Regions from separate parts of the Homo sapiens genome. Here regions 2 and 3 are each linked to region 1. The links are contacts of gene promoters, found by promoter capture Hi-C in human tissues and cell types (Jung and others, 2019). All regions are on one chromosome and are shown on one strand. Each heading gives the region's core, a stretch centred on a gene start or on the middle of the fragment in contact. The rest is flanking DNA. Distances are from core to core; before and after follow the strand shown. Region 1 holds the start of NDUFB6 (NADH:ubiquinone oxidoreductase subunit B6). Region 2 has its middle 230 kb from the start of ACO1. Region 3 has its middle 94 kb from the start of APTX.

Region 1 (3,364 bases), core at 596-3,095:
GTTTTTACTTGATTTTTATGGACTGCTTTTTGTAAATTTAATTTTGTTTTGTAATGATATTGTTAAAATTAAAACTTTAGAAAAATTAAATTTAGCAGAAATTAATTGAGCAATGACCAATTTGAGAATCAGGCAGCCCTCAGAACCAGAGGAGGTTCAGAAAGTATCGTTCCACAAAGAGGCCAGGCAGCACGCATAGAAAAAAAACAGAAATGAGATACAGAAACAGCTTGATTGGCTACAGGTTGGCCTTTGCCTTATTTGAACATGGGCTGATCAGTTGACCACCTGTGATGATTGGCTGAGACTCAGTTATTTGTTACAGAAGTATATTCCTAAGTTAGGCTGTGAGTTAAATTGCATACTAAGTTGGGTTGCAGTTCATTATATAAGGACTCAAAATACGGAGACATCTTTAAGCTAAATTTAATTTCACAATATGAAATATTTACTTGGTTCTAAAGTCAAATTTATGAAGTAAGATGTTTCCAGAGATGTCTAGATTCTATCCCTGTCTCCTCTATCCTATTTATTTCCTCCACCATAGGTAGCATCTTTAAAAACCTCAATTGTTTTCATTCCCATTATTTTGAAAATTTAAGAAAATATGTATATATATTGAAATTACCACCATCTTTCTCTTTTTGGGTAAAAGCATACTGTACAAATTCCTATCCATTTTTTTTCCACTTTGTAATGTATTCTGGAGATCACACCACAGATGTATATAGAGTTCTTCCTTATTACTTTTGACGATTGTATTAGCATTTCATTGCTTTGTTGTGTGAAAGTTTTTGGGAAGCCACTGTTTTGGACTAGCTTCACGCACTAGGCCCCAGCAGACCAGACCAAACCAGAATGGAGTCGTTTGTGCTAAGTACCACACAATCAAACTGAACTTTGAAATGGGCCAGTTTCCCAAAAAATAGGAAATTCCCTTAAGTCTGAGTCAGTGAAACAAGGAAGTTTCTTCTGCTTTAACCCTAAAAGTAACTTTGAAACGATGAGTCCACTTTTTGTTCGGTTTCTGCTTTCTTCAGCCCCTATTTGCCAATAAAACCAACCGCCTCTGCTCAGCTGATCAGAACACTCATTCTACTTTATAGAATGAGGTGTTTTTTGATTCTAGAATCACGAATAAGAGTCAATTAAGATTTTTAAACTAATTCGTTGTAATGCTGTCTTTTGACTGTTGTACTACAATTTATTCAAGCAGTCCTTTATTTAGGAATTTGGGGGTAATTTCCAATATTTTGGTATTATGAATCGTGCTGAATAGTCGTGCATGCTCTTTCATATTTTCACCACACGTATTTTTGGGTGAAAGCATGAATTCATCTATGCAATTTTGCTAGATATTAAGCTACTCTTTTCACTATTCCTGTACAGATGGAGGGACAGATGAGACAGCTGCCCAGGGCACTTCAGCAGTTACTGGCATAGCTGGGATTTGAACTGGGATGTAACTATTTTCATACACTCTCTAGGTCATTCCAAGGTGGGAGAGGCAAGCAAATAATTTTGAATCTGGCCAGCATATTCACTGAAACATTTATGCTTATCCTTCCTCCTCCCAGCATACAAGTTCTTCCTTAGCAAAACCTCCAGTCCTCTAATTTAGCATACTTTCGTCTAATCTGTCACTTTCCTCAGGCCCCACAACTACGAGTACTCCTTGTCCCCACCCGGTCCTAATTTGGTCGGGTATAGCGGAGGTGGGCGTAGAGAGAACTGGAGGTGGAGACCTTTGTGCATGCCCACACACTGCTTTCCTCGCGAGGAATCTGGGGCCCTTGCAGAGGCGGAACCAGGATGTGACGTAATAACCGCGCGCGGCGCTCGGCGTTCCCGCAAGGTCGCTTTGCAGAGCGGGAGCGCGCTTAAGTAACTAGTCCGTAGTTCGAGGGTGCGCCGTGTCCTTTTGCGTTGGTACCAGCGGCGACATGACGGGGTACACTCCGGATGAGAAACTGCGGCTGCAGCAGCTGCGAGAGCTGAGAAGGCGATGGCTGAAGGACCAGGAGCTGAGCCCTCGGGAGCCGGTGCTGCCCCCACAGAAGATGGGGCCTATGGAGAAATTCTGGAATAAATTTTTGGAGAATAAATCCCCTTGGAGGAAAATGGTGAGTGACAGACCTCTCCGGTCCCCCCCAACACATCCCACTGCTGCCGGCAGCCTGAACACTGAACGTCCGCTCCCTGCAGCCACACCAAGGACTGATAACGCTCAGTGCTCTGGGACACTGGCCAGTCCCGAGAGTCCTCCTGGAGTCTCGGGAGGCAGGAGTCCAGGAATATGTATGGCTTTGAGAGAATCATGCCTTTTACTGTCAAGTACAGTGGACGGGGGCGAATTTTAATACTTAGGTTTTCCAGGACGCTGCACGTTTGGTTCTCTTTTGACTGTAGAAATCTTCCCTCAGAATAATAACCAAGGACTCGCTAGAATTAAAATTCTGTGATTTAAGTATTTGAGGACACTTGTCTGACTTTTAAGTGTGAGGTTCTAGAGACCAAGTAACACAGTATCCAACCACCAGAGGGCACAGCCAGCCCCTAGCTGATAGTACAGCCCCATGTGATCCCCGTAAAAGACAGGGTCCTGTTGGTATGCCTTGTGAGTCACATTCAAGAGCTACCTTTCTAAACTACCGTTCTGTACTTTTAACACAGTGTTTCATTAAAAAAATCGCATTTTGGGCTTTGAAGAAAATCACTCATTCAAGAACTTTATTTTCAAGGCCTCTGGGTATTTTCTTGAGGACTGTTATGGATGATAAACATCTCAGAATTGCTTTCAGTTACCTGCAACACTTACTGATGACAGGATAATAGTAGTAACAATACTACGTAACACACGGGTGCTTGCTGTGTGCTTGGCACTCTACTGGGGGTTTTACATGTGTTACTTCATTTCTTTATTCCTGTAAGGTAGATATTCCTAATCCTCATTTTAAATGTGAAGAAACTGAGGCCTACAAAGCTTCAGTGATTTGCTGGTGGTCAGGGAGCTAGGAATTGAATATGAGTTCATATTGTAATCAACATGTATCTGATTCTTACTGTGCTACAAAGTCTAGTGCAATAGAATTGTTGAAAATTTTTCTGAGAAAGTGATATTGGATACTTATTTATGGTGGTAAAATTCAACTCTTCTCCCACCCTTTGTATCCCTGACATTATCGGAATATTGGCAGTCACTGATTTAAAGTTGACATCCCATCCATCAGCAAGTGATATAAGGAAGTAAATAAATAATAATGTGTCGAAGTTCACCTTACCTTACTTTAATTTATTCTTTTATAATCATATCTGTTATAATTCTTAGATTCTGGATTGTCCCTTCCTTGAATGGATAGGTGTT
Region 2 (3,364 bases), core at 316-2,815, 420 kb after region 1:
AGCATTTAGAAAATCTGACAGATACATTTGAATATGTGTGTTAGTATATATTTGTCAGATTTTATATGCAATACAAATTAAATCCACCTTCTTAATCTTAGGGAATTTTTAATAAGCTGATGACACACTGAGCCATAATAAAATTATGATAAATTTGAAAAGGTATGTGCTACGTCTTATAACAATGCAATAAAACTTGACGAGAAGTCCAAAGTTTAAGAAAACAAGAAAATTAAAATGTCATCAGAATGTTACTTTTAAAAATAACCATTTGTTGAAAGTAGAATTTAGAACTGTTTGCATGGTCTTCTGGAAGATGAACATAAAGTTCCACATATCAAAATATGTGTGATTCAGTACAAATTGTTTACAGAGGAAAACTAATGCATTTGCTATCTGTTAAAAACCATTAGCAGAAAACAAATTTTGTGTTAATTAATAATGCTTCTTAATACTACATGAAAATAGGTAATTATAGTATGCACATGTGATTTGCAATAAAAGATAAAACTGAAATAATTGCTTATGTTACTTGTGTACTAACACATGCATTAAAAGAACACCTACAGTGCATTAATCATATTTCAAAATATAGAAATTATTGATACTTAACATTATGAAGCTTATTTATTTTTATTATAATCCTATTCTCTTTTAACATAAAGGTTGTTGATTTTATGATTATTAAACACTCAGACATTGAAGACAATTTGAAACATGGAAAATTACAAATAAAATACAACCAGTAAACTAACACCTAGAAATACCTAATCTCGAATTTTCATTCTTAAATAGTTATTATCTATTACTCCTGTAATGTCAAATGCCAATATGATAAATACATATTTTTCTATACTTATTATATCTGTGAGGATGGACTGGTTATACTGCAGTAAGAACCCTGAGCCTTGATATTTTTAAAGAAAGTACTATTTCCAGATTTTGCTCCATCAGCTGTTGGCCATTTTCTTTGTCATCCTCGTGAGTTCATGAGGTGACATAGCAGCTGCTTACTATTGAAAAAAATGGTCAGTCCCTGTGGTGGGGAGAAAGAGAGGGTGGCAAATTGTGCCCTGATTCATAGAACTTTCACCTGAAAGTGATAAATACCACATCAGCTTATTTTGAAGCATGTCATTTAATTCAAAGCGGGGGTGAAACTTCAGTTCACTATTTACCTGGAATGAGAATAAAAATATTTTGTGAAGAGTTTTCAATGACTATCACAGTTATACAAGTATGTGAGAATATTGGCAGTTAACTGTGAAAAAAACAGAAACAAGAAAGTATAAGAAATAATTTGAAAAATCTTTGTAAGTGCTAATCCAGCCTCATACTTCCAACAACTTTATCCAATTCTTTGCTACAATAATCAATTTTGCTCATTTGACTTTTGCCAGCTTCCTAAAATACGCTGTTACTTTTTAATTTATTGAAAAGCCATGCTCTTAATTATTCCAAACATGTATTTAACACTGACTCTAAATCTTAGACTTTTCAAAAATTGTTCTATAATTATCTGTGTTTATCATAGGTTAGTTTATTATCTTAACACCCTCATGTCTGAGTCAGCTTTGCAATTCTTAGATAAGTGAAAGTAATCAAAATTAGGATCTATCTTACTAATTTTTTTTTGTCTGTTTGCTGCTATCTCTAGTACAGATAAAATTTTCACCAAAATAAGATTTTGGAAAGAAAATGGTACTAAATTGCTTCATTGAGACAAGAATAGGAAGTACAGTATCCTGCAACATTACCAGAGTTGTTTATCAGTTCCAGGAGCCTTTTGGCAGAGTCTTTAAGATTTTCTAGGTATCCAATTATATCATCAGCAAAGAGAGATAGTTTGACATATTTTCTTATTTGGATACCTTTTATTCATTTTTCTTGCCTGCTTGCATGATAGTCCTACTGGATAGGACTTCCAGTACTATGCTGAATAGGAGTGGTGAGGGTGGACATCCTTGTCTTCTTCCATTTCTCAAGGAGAATGGTTTGAATTTCTGCCCATTCAGTATAATGTTGGCTGTGGGTTTGTTATAGATGGCTCTTATTAAGTTGAGGTATGTTCCTTTCATGCCTTGGTTGTTGAGGGTCAATGTACAAAAATCAGTAGCATTTCTATACACCAACAATGTCCAGGCTGAGAGGGAAATCAAGAACACAATCCCATTTATAATAGCCACAAAGAAAATGAAATACCTAGGAATACAGCTAATCAGGGAGGTGAAAGATCTCTAAGAGGAAAACTACAAAACATTGCTGAAAGAAATCAGAGATGACACAAATAATTTGAAAAACATTCCATGCTCATGGATTGGAAGAATCAATATCATAAAAATGGCCATACTGCCCAAAGCGATTTACAGATTCAATACTATTCCTATCAAACTATCTACATCACTCTTCACAGAATTAGAAGAAACTTTTCTAAAATTTATATGGAACCAAAAAAGAGCCTGAATAGCCAAAGCAATTCTAAGCAAAAAGAACAAAGCCAGAGCCATCATACTACCTGACTTCAATCTATACTATAAATTCACATTAGCCAAAACAGCTTGTAACTGGTACAAAAAGAGACACATAGATTAATAGACTAGGATAGAAAACTCCAATATAAAGCCACACACCTACAACCATCTGATCTTCGACAAGGCTGACAAAAACAAGCAATGCGGAAGGAATTCCTTATTCAATAAATGGTGCTGGGAAAACTGGCTAGCCATAAGCCAAAGATTGAAGCTGGATGGCTACTACCTTTCACTACATACAGAAATAAACTCAAAAGGGATTAAAGAATTAAATGTAAGACCTCAGACTATAACAATCCTACAAAACAACTTAGGGAACACCCTTTTTGATACTGACCTTGGCAAATAATTTTTGGATAAGTCCCCAAAAGCAATTGCAACTAAAACAAAAATTGACAAGTTGGACCTAATTAAACCAAAGAGCTTCTGTACAGCAAAAGAAACTATCAACAGGGTAAACAGACAACCTACAGAATGGATAGGTTATCTCAACAAAGGCTGACGATAGCCTAATATAAAGAATCTATAGGGAACTTAAACAAATTAACAAGCAAAATATAAATAACTCCATTAAATAACGGACAAAAAACATGAACCTACACTTCTCAAGAGAGGCCGGACACTGTGGCTTACACCTGTAATCCCAGCACTTTGGGAGGCTGAGGCGGGTGGATCACCTGAGGTCAGGAGTTCGAGACCAGCCTGGCCAACATGGTGAAACCCGTCTCTACTAAAAATACAGAAATTAGCTGGGTGTGGTGGCAGATGCCTGTAATCCCAGCTGCTGCAGGAGAATCTCCTGAACCCAGGAGGCAGAGGTTGCAGTGAGCCTA
Region 3 (3,364 bases), core at 258-2,757, 330 kb before region 1:
ACATTTTCTTAATCCAGTCTATCACAAACAATCACTTTTTCAAACAATCATCGATGCAGTGGTGGAAAGGAAGTGTTAACAGTCTTTAGAGCGGGCTTTACACTAAATTCTGGCCCTCTGACTCTCACCAGCCAGGGTTCTTGGTCTTTGGCTCTTACTCTTTTGTTTACATTTCTGGAAGATTCTACAGCCAAGCCCAAGAAAGCTTTCCTTACAGGAATGGTGCCCCTTGAAAAAAACTAGAGGATGAGCTTGTGGGTCCGATCTGCTGGATGACTTGGCTTCCTCTCCTCTCTTTCAAAGCTCAGGCAGGCATACTGGAAGTCTTATGGCACCCGGGGTATTGGGCTTCCTTGTAGTTGAATGCCAGGAATGTTGTTCTTGTTTTCGGCCTAAAAGGAAAACACACATGTATTTATGTCTCTTGGATAACAGGAGTGCAAGACCTTCTCTTTTGATTCCCTCCAAAGTTTTAAATTCAGCATCAGATGATTATTTTTAAAAAATTAAAATCTGCCCCAGTGGTCGGGTGCGGGGAGCAGATGAGAGCCACTATCATATCATTTTCACTCTGTTGTCCAGGCTGGAGTGCAGTGGCACGATCTTGGCTCACTGTAACCTCACCTCTTGGGCTCAAGCCATCCTCCTGCCTCAGCCTCCCAAGTAGCTGGAACTACAGGCATGCGCCACCATGCCTGGCTAATTTTTGTATTTTTTGTAGAGATGGGTCTTGCCACGTTGCCCATGCTAGTCTTGAACTCCTGAGCTGAAGCAATCCACCTGCCTTGGCCTCTCAAAGTGCTAGGATTATAGGCGTAAGCCACCATGCCCGGCCTCAAATTTCATTTTTAGTAGTTTATTTTTGGTGTTTTGTTGTATATTGATCTTGTTTACTAGTAAACTTGATCAGTTCCCTTATTTATAGATTGTTTTCTCTGAGAGAAGTTTCTTAGTATTAGTCTTTCTTCTTCCTCAGTGGAAGAATTCATCAGTACAACCAACTGGATCTGGAGATTCCTTTGTGGAAAGACTTAAAATGATAGATTCAGTTTCTTTAATAGCTAAAGCACCATTCAGATTTTCTGATCTTTCTGAGGCAGTTTTAATAAGTTTTATTTTTCCAGGAGTTTGTCCATTTCATCTAATTTTCCAAATTTATTGGCCTAGGGTTGTTCTAATATCCCATTAGTAACTCTTTGATGTTTGTGGGGTGTAGGCCATTTTTGTAGTGAGGCCATTTTTGTTCCCTTACTTATGTAATTTGTGCTTGATTTCTCTTTTTTTATTGGTCTTGCTAGATAATTATTCCTATTTTTTCAGTGTTGAAGGGAAAGTTACTGAGTATCAGGCTGTCTTCCCCAGGCCTCCTCTCTTCAGGAATCTTGGCTATTTAGGTCCTGGCTGTCTTGGCAGGCTCCAACCCAGCTCCACAAGATTGCCAGCTTCTTTGCCTCTTAGCATTCATTCTCTGCCTGCCTTCTCAGCAACCCTACTCCCTGACCCCCTACAACCCCGGCCACCCTAGGAGTCATTAATGCCTTGAGGGCGAAAGAGGTATAAAGAATATTGGACTCACTTAGTCAGCTTCTTTTTTCTTTGGAATCTTAGCCTTTCAAATTCTGGATATTTTTGACAGCTCTCTGATAATGTTAAACAGACAGTTTAAATCTCAGACCCTTTATCTATCACCCTCCTACCCTCTCATCATACCCTCCTCAGCCCTAGACAACCATTAATCTACTTTCTGTATCTATATAGATTTGCCTATTCTGGACATTTCATATAAATGGAATCAGATAGTAAGTGGTCTTTTATGACTGGCTTTGCATAATGTTTCAAGGTTTCTCCACGTTGTAGCCCTTCCCGGTATTTCATCCTTTTTTATTCCTTGGCAAATTGTCACCATCCTTTCAAGTTTGGATTCACTTTTAACATTTTATCCTCTGCACTTTCAAGGTTGTGAAATATCTTTGAGAGTTTCTTTAACCTGACATTTTTGCCAGCATCCCTTTCTCTGGGACATCTTTGTGCTTTTGTCATAGCCACTCTCTTGTTTGAGAGCATCATAACCTACTTTCCTTAACTAATTCTTGAAATCTTGTTTCAAATTTCACGGCAGAAAACTTATTTTCACCAGCTACTTAATCAGATAGCTTACTGTAAATCATTCATTCTGGCATCTGAAATGATGAAACCAGTCTTTATTGGCAGTAGAAGTTTCTTTGGCTTCCTTAGAATCACTGTTTTCTTTCAGCATGGCAATGATCACACTTTGGGATGCTAGCTGAACTGATTGAGATTATGTTTTATTGCAGCCCTCGATTCAAAGTGAGAGGTGAAGCTGACTGGACTTCTGGGTCGGGTGGGGACTTGGAGAACTTTTCTGTCTAGCTAAAGGATTTTGTAAATGCACCAGTCAGCGCTCTGTGTCTAGCTAAAGGTTCGTAGACTCACCAATCAGTGCTCTGTGTCTAGCTAATCCGGTGGGGACCTGGAGAACTTTTCTGTCTAGCTAAAGGATTGTAAATGCACCAATCAGTGCTCTGTGTCTAGTTAAAGGTTTGTAAACGCACCAATCAGCACTCTGTAAAAACGCACCAATCAGTGCTCTGTGTCTAGCTAATCAGGTGGGGACCTGGAGAACTTTTCTGTCTAGCTAAAGGATTGTAAATGCACCAATCAGCGCTCTGTGTCTAGTTAAAGGTTTGTAAATGCACCAATCAGCACTCTGTAAAAACGCACCAATCAGCGCTCTGTGTCTAGCTAAAGGTTTGTAAACACACCAATCAGCACTTGTAAAAATGGACCATTCGGCTCTCTGTAAAATGGACCAATCAGCTCTCTGTAAAATGGACCAATCAGCAGGATGTGAGCGGGACCAAATAAAGGAATAAAAAGCAGGTCACCCCAGCCACCAGTGGCAACCTCCTCGGGTCCCCTTCCAGGGTGTAGAAGTTTTGTTCTTTCGCTCTTAGCAATAAGTCTCGCTGCTGGTCATTCTTTGGGTCCGCACCACCTTTAAGAGTTGTAACACTCACTGCGAAGGTCTGCAGCTTTACTCATGAAGTCAGCATAGACCACGAACCCATCAGAAAGAAGAAACTCCAGACACATCTGAACATCTGAAGGAACAAACTCCAGACACGACATCTTTAAGAACTGTAACACTCACTGTAGAGTCCACGGCTTCATTCTTGAAGTCAGTGAGACCAAGAACCCACTGGAAGGAACCAATTGCGGACACAAAAGCAGAAGTAAGCACTCCATTTCAACCACATGTGGCTTTCTCTTCCTACTGCAATTTAAGCTAAAATATGTTGAAGCTGCTTTACCTCATTTTTTATATTCAGCGAACTTTGTCGGC

The links. The method cuts DNA at HindIII sites, captures the fragments that hold promoters and counts their contacts. A contact is called where the count stands out against the background at its distance.
Region 2: a fragment that was not itself captured here is called in contact with the fragment with the promoter of NDUFB6 in region 1 in 1 of the 25 tissues and cell types used here (H1 embryonic stem cells).
Region 3: a fragment that was not itself captured here is called in contact with the fragment with the promoter of NDUFB6 in region 1 in 1 of the 25 tissues and cell types used here (lymphoblastoid cells).

Annotation. Positions count from the first base shown.
Region 1 is chr9:32,571,640-32,575,003 of GRCh38, reverse strand. It overlaps NDUFB6 (NADH:ubiquinone oxidoreductase subunit B6), which reads left to right and starts at 1,845. Exons shown (of 4, transcript NM_002493.5): 1 at 1,845-2,123. The coding sequence starts at 1,944. RefSeq lists enhancers at 1,438-1,487, 1,758-2,297. The HindIII fragment of the contact is 12,015 bases long and covers 1-3,364 here.
Region 2 is chr9:32,156,060-32,159,423 of GRCh38, reverse strand. No RefSeq gene overlaps it. Among named protein-coding and RNA genes, the nearest start is that of ACO1, 230 kb to the left of the region's middle. The HindIII fragment of the contact is 4,188 bases long and covers 1-3,364 here.
Region 3 is chr9:32,906,286-32,909,649 of GRCh38, reverse strand. No RefSeq gene overlaps it. Among named protein-coding and RNA genes, the nearest start is that of APTX, 94 kb to the left of the region's middle. RefSeq lists a silencer at 541-741 and an enhancer at 1,959-3,158. The HindIII fragment of the contact is 8,299 bases long and covers 1-3,364 here.